3 separate regions of the Homo sapiens genome follow, and regions 2 and 3 are each linked to region 1. The links are contacts of gene promoters, found by promoter capture Hi-C in blood cells and fetal thymus (Javierre and others, 2016). All regions are on one chromosome and are shown on one strand. Each heading gives the region's core, a stretch centred on a gene start or on the middle of the fragment in contact. The rest is flanking DNA. Distances are from core to core; before and after follow the strand shown.

The links. The method cuts DNA at HindIII sites, captures the fragments that hold promoters and counts their contacts. A CHiCAGO score of 5 or more calls a contact.
Region 2: a fragment that was not itself captured here is called in contact with the fragment with the promoter of TTC27 in region 1 in 1 of 17 cell types (non-activated CD4 T cells); the score reaches 8.4 in non-activated CD4 T cells.
Region 3: a fragment that was not itself captured here is called in contact with the fragment with the promoter of TTC27 in region 1 in 1 of 17 cell types (M2 macrophages); the score reaches 6.4 in M2 macrophages.

Annotation. Positions count from the first base shown.
Region 1 is chr2:32,626,153-32,629,978 of GRCh38, forward strand. It overlaps TTC27 (tetratricopeptide repeat domain 27), which reads left to right and starts at 1,898. Exons shown (of 20, transcript NM_017735.5): 1 at 1,898-2,228. The coding sequence starts at 2,141. It overlaps LOC124905985 (a long non-coding RNA gene), which reads right to left and starts at 626. Exons shown (of 3, transcript XR_007086273.1): 1 at 481-626. RefSeq lists enhancers at 1,098-1,759, 1,478-1,537, 1,760-2,419, 1,948-2,007 and a silencer at 2,258-2,387. The HindIII fragment of the contact is 6,273 bases long and covers 1-3,826 here.
Region 2 is chr2:37,074,495-37,078,320 of GRCh38, forward strand. HEATR5B (HEAT repeat containing 5B) reads right to left here. Exons shown (of 36, transcript NM_019024.3): 4 at 2,417-2,525; 5 at 991-1,140. Among named protein-coding and RNA genes, the nearest start is that of HEATR5B, 8.0 kb to the right of the region's middle. The HindIII fragment of the contact is 1,382 bases long and covers 1,427-2,808 here.
Region 3 is chr2:37,051,871-37,055,696 of GRCh38, forward strand. It overlaps HEATR5B (HEAT repeat containing 5B), which reads right to left. Exons shown (of 36, transcript NM_019024.3): 17 at 1,632-1,737. Among named protein-coding and RNA genes, the nearest start is that of HEATR5B, 31 kb to the right of the region's middle. The HindIII fragment of the contact is 869 bases long and covers 1,308-2,176 here.

The DNA of each region.
Region 1 (3,826 bases), core at 648-3,147:
GAGATTAGGCAGACTTCAGTCACCATCATCATCTAGCATACCACATTTAAAACAAACCAACCTTGAATTTAACTGAAAGTTGCAAGTTTACTATGTGGATTAACGGGGTGCTACATACAGGTGAGGAACTTTGGCAGAGCGGCCAGTGTGTTTTTACAGACGTTCATCTTTAACAATTATCAAATTAGTTTAGACAGTGCTGGCTTTTATACTTAAGGAAATGAACAGACAACCTGGTCAAGTATCATTTTCTAGAAAAATAGTGGGGTTTTTTTTGTTTGTTTATTTTTTTGAGACGGAGTCTCGCTCTGCTGCCCAGGCTGGAGTGCAGTGGCGCGATCTTGGCTCACTGCGACCTCCGCCTCCTGGGTTCAGGCCATTCTCCTGCGGCAGCCTCCTGAGCAGCTGGGACTACAGGCGCCCGCCACTACGCCCGGCTAATTTTTTAAAAAAATATTTTTAGTAGAGATGGGGTTTCACCTTGTTAGGCAGGATGGTCTCCATCTCCTGACCTCATGATCCGCCCGCCTCGGCCTCCCAAAGTGCTGAGATTACAGGCGTGAGCCACTGCGCCCGGCCTGAAAAACAGTTTTTAATTACTTCTCAGTGGGAGGACATTTTAGGGCATCCGCTCTTCTCCAATCACAGTCAGGTCCGGCTTCCTTTGGTATCTGATGGCAATGGCTGAAATGAGCTGAGCTGAGTTCCTCTCCCTTCACATTCTGGAGTGGCTCTTTACTGAGTAAGAAAGTGAATTAACATTTATTTAGCTTCTTCCTTGGAGCTGGGTACCGGGTCAGCCTCTTTTCAGAGAGCTTTTGCTCTTGTGGTCAGAGTTACCCTGCAGTTTTCTCCTGGCTCTTACATGACATATCTCAGTACAGGTGTCAAGCCAATGGGACAAAGCCATAGTCCTGTTTTCCTTCCCTCCTTCCCTCCCTCCCTCCCTTCCTTCCTTCTTCCCTCCCTCCCTCCCTCTTTCCTATTGCCCAGGCTGGAGTGCAGTGGCACCATCTCAGCTCACTGAAACCTCCGCCTCCCGGGTTCAAGCAATTCCCCCGCCTCACCGTCCCGAGTAGCTGGGTTTACAGGGGTGCCCCACTACGTCCGGCTAATTTTTGTATTTTTAGTAGAGACGGGTTTCACCATATTGGCCAGGCTGGTCTCGAACTCCTGACCTCAGGTGATCCATCCGCTTCATCCTCCCAAAGTGCTGAGATTACAGGCGTGAGCTACCGCGCCCGCCCTCTAACTGTTTCTTTGGAGTGCTGCTAGGAAGATTCAAAGAAGTGCAAATAAGGTACCAGCGGAGGCTGGTTTGTCTCCTTGCAATTTCTTTGTGATCACCCCTGGGATCACTCTTCTACAGCGTTCCGACAGTGTTCCAAAAACTTCCCTGCACCAGCGGCAGGGGCAGATTTCCCACCCGGCCATGATTCATGTAGAGCAGTGTCAAAACCAGATCCTTTCCTTACACGCTCATTCGCCGAAAGACCCATGCTATGCTGACGGGGTTCCAACCTGGGCTTCACCGACTCCACGTCAGAGGGTCTGTGATTCCCTGAGAGGGTACCCTTAGGCTGAGAGCAAGGGCCCACCTGCACTCTGCGCGAAGGACTGTGGTTTTCATCGGGTTGTCGAGAGCGTTCTAACCCAAAATGCTTTAAGAATCACAACTCTAGCCCTTCTAATCAAACTGCTTTGGCCAAGACGTCCGTTTTGAGTTGCATTTGAACCCTAGCCCTCGGTGGGAGGCACACTCACTTCCACGTTCACAGTTCTTGGAAGCGGTCCCACTGGGGGCGGGGCTGAGCGCGACCGCGCCCTCAACTCCCCCTATTGCCCGCCCCGGGGTGGGGCATAACCACCCAACAGGCTCCTTACTCAAGCTCGGGTTCTTCTCCTAGGCGGAAGCCAGACCAGAGAGCGTGCGTGTTTTTCCCAGGGTGCCCCGCGCTGCTGTTATGGCCGCCTCCTTGAGGTAGTATCCGCACATGGAATTCTAGGGCCGCAGGTGTATTTACGGTAACTGTCGCCACTAGATTTCAGCGCCTTTGGACTCTCCTGTTTTCACTTTCTTTTGTTGACTCCCGTGTGGCCCTCGTGGGAGCCTGTTTTGGCTGCAGCGGTGTCTGGGGTGATGTGGACCCCGGAGCTGGCAATTCTGAGGGGATTCCCCACTGAGGCTGAGCGGCAGCAATGGAAACAGGAGGGGGTCGTCGGTTCAGGTGAGAGGCGCACCTACCGGGCCTTAGGCTATCGTGGGAACTGTGAGGAAAAGGGATGGCAGCGACTGATTCTCATCCCTCCCTTCATTTTTCCCTAACACAGTCTAGCTGATTCCTTGAGGCTTTGGGTCGTTTAGTCTTTGACATGGTGGGCGTGGTCCTCACTTTCTTTGCGCAAAACTTCTTACCGCCCAGGTTCAGTAATAATGACAATGGCAATGTCAGTTATTTTTCTAAGCCCTTAACATGTACTCAGTCATTTAATGCTTATAGTAGATACTTAAGGTAGATTCAATTTTTAATCCCATTTTGCGGTGAAGATCTGTAAATACAGTTGGGTTAAGTAATTTTATTTTATCTATTTATTTATTTATTTATTTATTTATTTATTTATTTATTGAGACGGAGTTTTGCTTTTTGCCCAGGCTGGAGTGCAATGGCGCGATCTCGGCTCGCTGCAACCTCCGCCTCCCGGGTTCAAGTGATTCTCCTGCCTCAGCCTCCAGGGTAGCTGGGATTACAGGCATGCGCCACCACGCCCGGCTAATTTTGTATTTTTAGTAGAGTCGAGGTTTCACCATGTTGGCCTAGCTGGTCTGGAACTCCTGACCTCAGATGATTCGCCTGCCTCAGCCTCCCAAAGTGCTGGGATTACAGGCCTGAGCCACCGCGCCCGGGTCTGGTTAAGTAATTTATTTAAGGTCACACTGTTGGTAAGCAGAGGAGCTAAAATGAGGCAGCAAAGTTGTTTTTTTGGGGGGATGGAGTCTCCCTCTTGTTGCTCTGGCTGGAGTGCACTGGTGCCATCTCGGCTCACTGCAACCTCCGCTTCCCCGGTTCAAGCGATTCTCCTGCTTCAGCCTCCAAAGTAGCTGGGACTACAGGCATGCACCACCATGCCCGGCTAATTTTGTGTTTTTAGTAGAGACGGCTTTCATCATGTTGGTCAGGCTGGTCTGGAACTCCTGACCTCAGGTGATCCACCCGCCTCGGCCTCCCAAAGTGCTGGGATTACAGCCATGAGCCACCATGCACGGCCTAGGCGGCAATGATTTATTTTTTTTATTTTTTTGAGACAGAGTCTCGCTCTGTCGCCTAGGCTGGAGTGCAGTGGCGCGATCTCGGCTCACTGCAAGCTCCACCTCCCGGGTTCACGCCATTCTCCTGCCTCAGCCTCCCGAGTAGCTGGGACTAAAGGCGCCTGCCACCACGACCAGCTAATTTTTTTTTTTGTATTTTTAGTAGAGACGGGGTTTCACCGTGTTAGCCAGGATGGTCTCGATCTCCTGACGTCGTGATCCACCCACCTCGGCCTCCCAAAGTGCTGGGATTACAGGCATGAGCCACCGCGCCCAGCCTAGGAGGCAAAGATTAATTCTTGTGAGCAATGAATATTTACCAGAGAGATAAAGAGTTAAAAGGCACATGCACTGGCACATCTGGTTGTGGGATTTAGGCTGGACCCAAAAGAGTAATAATGAACAGTGTAGTGTGTAAGTACTCTGTGTGTATGTGTGTGTGTGTGGGCACTTGTGTGACACAGTAGGTGCTTCCAGTGACAGGAAGTTTGAACTTTGGTGGCCTGGAAAACTTTCCTA
Region 2 (3,826 bases), core at 868-3,367, 4.4 Mb after region 1:
TTTACGAAATGTTTCCTTAGATACAACACCAAAAGCACAATCCATATAAGAAAAATTGATACACTGGATGAAATTCAAAATCTCTTTTCCTTACAAGGCACTGTTTAGAGAATAAAGAGACAGGCCACCCATTGGGAAAAATATTTGTAAATCACATATCTGATAAAGGAATATGTAAAAAACCTATAAAACACTCTCAAAAGTCAATAATTATAAAACAACCCAATAAAACAATGGACAAAAGATTGAGCACATCCTTCTTCGAAGAAGATATGGATGGCAAATAAGCACCTGAAAATATGCTTATCATTAGTCATCACGGAAATGCAAATTAAAGCCACAATGAGATACCATTGAGATATGAGATACAATGACATATGTATCCATTAGAATGGCTTAAATTAAAAAGACTGTCAGTAACAAACAATGGTGATGATATGAAGGAAGAGAAATTCTCATACACTGCTAGTAGAAATGCAGAATGGCACGAGTACTTTGGAAAACAGTTTTGTACTTTTCTGAACGTTAAACTAAATCTGCCCTATGAACCAGCTATTCCATCCCTAGGTTATTTGCGGAAGTGAAATGAAAGCATATGTTTGTGCAAAAACTTATATACAGATGTTCACAGCAGTTTTTTTGTAATAATCAAAACTAGAAGCAACTCAAATGTTTATAACAGGTGAGTGAACAAATCAATGTGACATATCCATACAATGAAATACTACTCAGCAATAAAAAGGAATGAACTATGGATACATATAACAACATAAATGAATTTCAAAACAATTATACTAAGTGAAAGAAGCCAGAATACACATACACAAAAGTACATCTCATGATGTGATACTATTATATATAATTCTAGAAAATGAAACTAATCCATTGGAACACAAAACATAATTTAAAATTTTAAAAGAAAAAAAAATCGTTGACTGTTTAAGAGCAAGAAGGATAAAGAGCAGTATTCTAAATTGGTCGAGTACTAACCTTGGCCACTGCACATCGAACAGCCATTGACCTATCAGTCAAGAGAGACCTGGCATTCTTGTAAATATCACGATGGGAGGAAGCTGCTGCACCACCCAGTCCACTTAGAACTTTCTGTAGACTCATTAAGATTTCACTTCGCCCTTGAGACTAGACATGTATACAAAACAAAACTATTTTGTAAAATAAATTCCATATTTAAACAAGAACACACCAAGACAAAAGTTCTTTGGGTCTAATGGTCTTACCTCCAAATTATAAACGGTAAATAATGAAAAGTACAATAAAATTAAGTATTCTAGAAAGTACCTGGCAAGTAAGAATAGTCAATTAAATAATATCTTTCTAAAAAATTAGGTTTTAAGTAAATATATTCCAATATTTCTATGAATTACTGAAGTACATACAATATAATGAAAACATGAAGAGATTCAAAAGCTTCAATATCATATCTCAATATATAAAATATTTCAGAACGTAAAATATTAAGTAAAAAAGTTGAGAAATAATATATAAATGATCCAAAAAAGGAAGCAGAAAACATCCAACACATTTAAAAAAACATGTCAGAAATACAGCAAACCTTCATCTTCTTGTGACTAACTCAAACTGTTATATCCATATTCTCATAGTGCTTATTGTTATTTCTGATAGTATACTCATCACAGTGTATCACAATGCTTATTCACACTTAGCTCTCTTCCACTAAACTGTAAGTTCTTTGAGGTCAGGACCATCTTTGTATGTTTAATGCCTGACAAATAATAAGTCCTCAATTCTTTTTTAATGAATGAATAGACAAATAGTTCCCAGAAAAGGTATCCAATTCTAATCCAATGACTGGTATCACTGAACAGGGAAATAATTTAGACACAAAACACAAAGGGACAGGAAAAAGGTGATGTGACAAAGGAGACAGAGATGGGAGAGATGCATCTACAAGCCAGGGAAGATCAAAGATTTCCAGCAACCACTAGAAGGTAAGAAGGAAAGGAAACATTCTTCCCTAGATCCTTCAGTGGAAACATGGCCTTGCTGACACTTTATCGCAGACCTCCAGCTTCCAGAACTGTGAGACAATAAATTGTTGTTGTTTTAAGCCACCCAGTCTAAGGTAATTTATTACAGTAACCAGGAAATTAACACATTAGCTATGGCACCAAAAAAAAGAAAAAAAAAAAAGCCAATCCAAAAGTACCATAGGACTAAATAAAAAATAACAAGTAAACCTATTCCTTGTCAAAGAAAAGCATTCTTTCCCTTCCCCCTGATATACATTAAAAGAAGGGACAAGTAATAATTTGTAATTACCTCCTTGCTAAGCAATATGAGACCACAGTGACAGAAAAAGAAACAAACATATTTTAGCTGACATCTAACTCTTGCCACAAGCAAATATTCAAATAATATTGGTTGTAAAACTTACCTCTGCACTTTTCAGAGATTTCAATAGATTATTTACCGTTTCTGGAAATGCGCTGCCCAACATTCTCCCCATTTTTTCATAAAATGCTCCGACACAAGCCACCGCAGCCCTGTAAGAAGTGACAACTTCACTAGTCATTGTCCAGGTTAATGATACAATTATACTTTTCTCATTTTTAGAAATCAATTTGCATTTGTCTAGGACACTTTTGGCTATAATCCTTAATTTCAACTATCAAAAACAATTTATGCTTCATAACTGCAACAAATACTATACTCTATTTACACTGTATTCTTGTTAAATACTATAGTTAAATTGTATTCTTGTTAGGAATACAAAAGAATCTATATATGTACATAATAAATCATACCCATTCTTTGGGAAGAAATCCAAGCTTTTCTTTTTTTTTTTAGGGGGAGACAAAGTCTCACTCTGTCACCCACGCTGGAGTGCAGTGGTGTGGTCCTGGTTCACTGCAACCTCTGCCTCCTGGGTTCAAGCCATTCTCCTGCCTCAGCTTCCTGAGTAGCTGGGATTACAGGTGCATGCCACCATTCCCAGCTCATTTTGTATATTCAGTAGAGATGGGGTTTCACCACGTTAGCCAGGCTGATCTCGAACTCCTGACCTCAGGTGATCCGCCTGCCTCGGCCTCCCAAAGTGTTGGGATTACAGGCGTGAGCCACAGCGCCCGGCCCCTAAGCTTTGCTTCTATGAAGACTTTCCAAATTATGTCAAGCCTCAACAATCCCTCTCTTCTTTCATTATATGTAACACTTAATGTCAATCACTGATTTTGACAAAATTATATCATTTACTGTGTTGTAACTTGACCATTTTATATGTCTCTATCTTGTCCTGCCAGTGGAAATGTAAACTCCAGAAACGGAATATAGCTCACATATTTGCATTGCTCACAGTGTCTACCTCTTAATTTACAAATAATACTATACTATTAGTAAACCTGTAAAATTTAATCTAAATTACATTAACAGAACACTTGGAAGAATAAAGTAATAATAGCAACACACTTCTTCAGGAGCAAGAAATGACCCCAGTGTCACTTAGGTCAATAGTAAGTGAATAGCTGTGGGTTTAGCTTAAAGGCAAAAGTAGGACATGGTGGTTAAGAGCGGATGCTTTGGAGTCTAGCAGACCTGTGCCTAAATCCTAGAACCTACCATCTAATAGCTATGTGTAGTTGGATCTTGGAAGTGGGCAGGTGGTCTACCATGAGGCGAGTCATTCCCGCTCCAACAAATAAAAATAAATAAAAGCTATGTGATCTGAGCAATTTACAGATAAGAGAGGTTAACTAAATTTAGCTCACAATCAAACACATAATAAACAGTAGAATCAGGGAATCAACTTTCACCTCTTCAACTCCAAATCTCATGCTTTTTGATACCC
Region 3 (3,826 bases), core at 492-2,991, 4.4 Mb after region 1:
CTGGGATTACAGGCACCTGACACCACGCCTGGCTAATTTTTGTATTTTTAGTAGAGATGGAGTTTCATCATGTTGGCCAGGCTGGTCTCAAACTCCTGACCTCAGGTGATCCCCCCGCCTCGGCCTCCCAAAGTGCTGGGATTACAGGCATAAGCCACCACGCCCAGCCCCAAACCCTTATTTCTATAATCAATGCCTATATATATCCTTTTTCCCTGATGTTTACAAAATATGACTTAAGCATGACCTAAGACATGTTCATGCAAACACATATTTGCTACCATTTTATTTTAAAATAAGCTTAGCACTGAATAATATAAAAAGTATTCAAACACTTTATGATAGAGTGCCTAGTATGATGCGCGAATCCTGTGAGATAGGCAAACTATTTGTAACAGTGGTCCCCTCTTTTCCACAGGGGACACATTCCAAGGCCCACCTTGGATGTCTGAACCATGGGATTAGGAACCTGATTGCTGTCAATGGGAACTTGTTTCTGTTCATGCCTTCTACTCACAAACTTAATGCCTTTTCAATTTTAACTAGGCACTTATCACATACCATGGCCATGATTTTTGTAATTTGCGATGGGACAGCAAAACTAACACAAATTCCTTTTTCCTTCTTCATGATTTCAGACAGAAGATTTGTTCTTCCTGTAGATCTCAGCAACTTTGGCATATGATATTATTTCTTGCCTTCTTAAGTTGAGAACTTTCTCTTCTTCACTTAAAGGAAGCACTTTACAGCTTCCCTTTGGCATATCCAAATTGCCAGAATCACTACTTTTGCACTTTGGGGCCAGTATGAAGTAAAACAAGGGTTATCTGAACATAGGTGCTGCCACACTGCAGCAGCCCATCTGATAACTGAGACAGATGGTGACCAAGTGACTAACAGACAGGTAGGGTAGAAAGTGTGGAATCACTGGACAAAGAGATGATTCTCATCCTAGGCAGGACAGGGCAAGATGGAACAGGACAGTACAAGATTTTATCATGCTACTCAGAATGTTGCACAATTGAAAACTTATAAATTATTTCGGGAAATTTCCATTTAATATTTTCAAATCACAGTTGACCATTGGTAATTGAAACTGCAGAAAGCAAAACTGCAGATAAGGAAGGGACTACTGTATTCTTCTTCATACCTGTAGAAACTACAACTCGAAAAAGGTTAAAAAAGTTTAAAGAAATTACTCTGGACACAAACCTAGAGTAGCTTAATGAGAACGCAATCTCTAAATGCAGCATTCTTTCAATTATGTAACACTGCCTCACATGATTTGTGGCCTAAACCACAGATCAAGCTTCAGCTCTATTTAGTTAACCTTCAGTAGAATATCCGATTTCATTCGTCAAACATCTTTGAAAATTCTGAAAGAATTTATTGGCACTTGTAAAATCTGAAGTTCAAATTGAAACATAAACTTTAACAACATTAAAATATAAAACATTTATTTAACTACACTGAGCCTAACATAAAGTTTCAAGTAATTTAACTAAGCTAACGTAAAGGCACAGTTACCAAGTGATTTACATATAAACATTATAATAATCTTGCTATGTCTGGCTTATTAAATGCATTAATTAAAAACTTATTTCAGAATAGTATGTATTAAAAGTAAATACCTTTAGTGCACTAAGAACAGCAGTAAATATGTTAAGCTGCACAGCCTGCTGGCGGACACCTTTAGCTTGTTTAACACATTCAGCAAAGTGATCCAACATTTGTAATCTATAACAATAAGAAAAAAAAATCACATTAGTGACAAATTTTATTCCAATATGGCTCAAAAACGGATAAGAAGAGTACAAGTTAATTGTTTAGCAAATAATTCCCCATGCTATCTCTTTTCTATTTCATTCCCACAGCTAGTCCAAACCAGATCTCCTTCTCCCAAAATATTATATGGACATGCGGTTATTAAATGGAACAAGAAAAGAGTTTCAATTAACAAAATAAGGTCACAATTGCAGTGGTCTTCAACATTAACAGCACTGTCCAACAAAGCGCCTGGCATCTAGTAGACGCTCAAGGTTTCTTGCAAAGATAACAATCATTAATTATGTATCTCCGTGGAAGATTTTTAAGTTAGAAAATTTTAAATGTAGTATAATTCTTTTTCCTATTTTAAAAATACTCTTAGAATAGTACCTCATGTCCTAGCCTCAGAAGCTTTTGGGAAAGTTCAAAAAAGATTTAGCTTTGGCTAATTTTTTTAAATGTAAAAAACCAGAAGTGAATTGTTTTTTATATTAATAAAAAAGAATCAGTTTATTAAAAAAAAAAAATCCATGGCCATCTTAGATGATTTCTCTGTTTTTTTTTTTTTTTTTTTGAGATGGAGTTTCGCTCTTGTTGCCCAGGCTGGAGTGCAATGGCGCGATCTCGGCTCACCACAATCTCCACCTCCCAGGTTCAAGTGATTCTCCTGCCTCAGCCTCCCGAGTAGCATGCGCCACCACGCCTGGCTAATTTTGTATTTTTAGTAGAGACTGGGTTTCTCCATGTTGGTCAGGCTGGTCTCGAACTCCCGACCTCAGGTGATCTGCCCACCTCGGCCTCCCAAAGTGCTGGGATTACAGGCGTGAGCCACTGTGCTCTGCATTTTTTTTTTTTTTTTTTTTTGAGACTGAGTTTCGCTCTTGTTGCCCAGGCTGGAGTGCAATGGTGCAATCTTGCCTCCCTGCAACCTCTGCCTCCTGGGTTCATATGATTCTCCTGCCTCAGCCTCCCGAGTAGCTGGGACTACAGGTGTTCGCCACTACACCCAGCTAATTTTGTATTTTTAGTAGAGAAGGATTTTACCATGTTGGCCAGGCTGGTCTCAAACTCCTGACCTCAGGTGATCTGCCCACCTTTGCCTCCCGAAGTGCTGGGATAACAGGTGTGAGCCACAACGCCCGGCCCATTTCAGAAGATTTTGATAAAAAGAGAGTGAGAGAGCATTCTTCTAAAAAGAAATGATGTGAAACAAAGGAATCCAAGGAAGTTGGATTTAGTACTAAGACAATTATGACCTCAAGTTGGTAATAAAATCTCCCTGAGGTCGCTGTAAGGATTTAAAGCTCAATTTATACTAGTCTACAGGTCTCAGGTCTCAGGTCAAAGCATTATTCAAAACTCATATGAAGATACAGATTCAGATGTACGTGTATACATGCACATTTTGATGTACTTTAAAAAATTCTTAAAAGTAAGTAAGTACCTTTTGTGCACTAAGAACAGCAGTAAATATATTAAGCCGCACAGCCTGCTGGTTGAAAACCAAAGTAGGATCACTTCTTGCTTTTTACCTTTTTAATTTAACATTGTATCATGAGCATCTTCTATCAAAACACTGTCTCTACAAAAATGGACTTTCTATTATTTATTCACTTATCCTCCTACTGTTGAATATTTATGTTATTTATTATATGTTTATATTTTTAATAGAATTTATTTATTTATACTTCATCTTATTCTGTAAAAGTGATCATACAGAATTGAGATAATCCTGGATTTCAGTTATAGCTTTCATAACTAGTTGTATAACCTTGGGTAAACCAAACTCTTAGATATGGATGTCCTTAAGATTTAAAACCAAAATGTTGAAATAGATGCTTTATAAGATTCTTCCACCTTTAACATCATTTAACATTTATGTGGCAACCAAATGTTCTTAAAGATATTTGGGTAAAGTTTCATATTTAAACTTTTTTCTCCTCAAATTAAAAAGCAATTAATCAAGCAACCTACATATTAAAGACATTTTTTATTTTGTAATTTTTGTAGAGATGAGTGTCTCACTATGTTTCCCAGGCTGGTCTGAAACTCCTTGCCT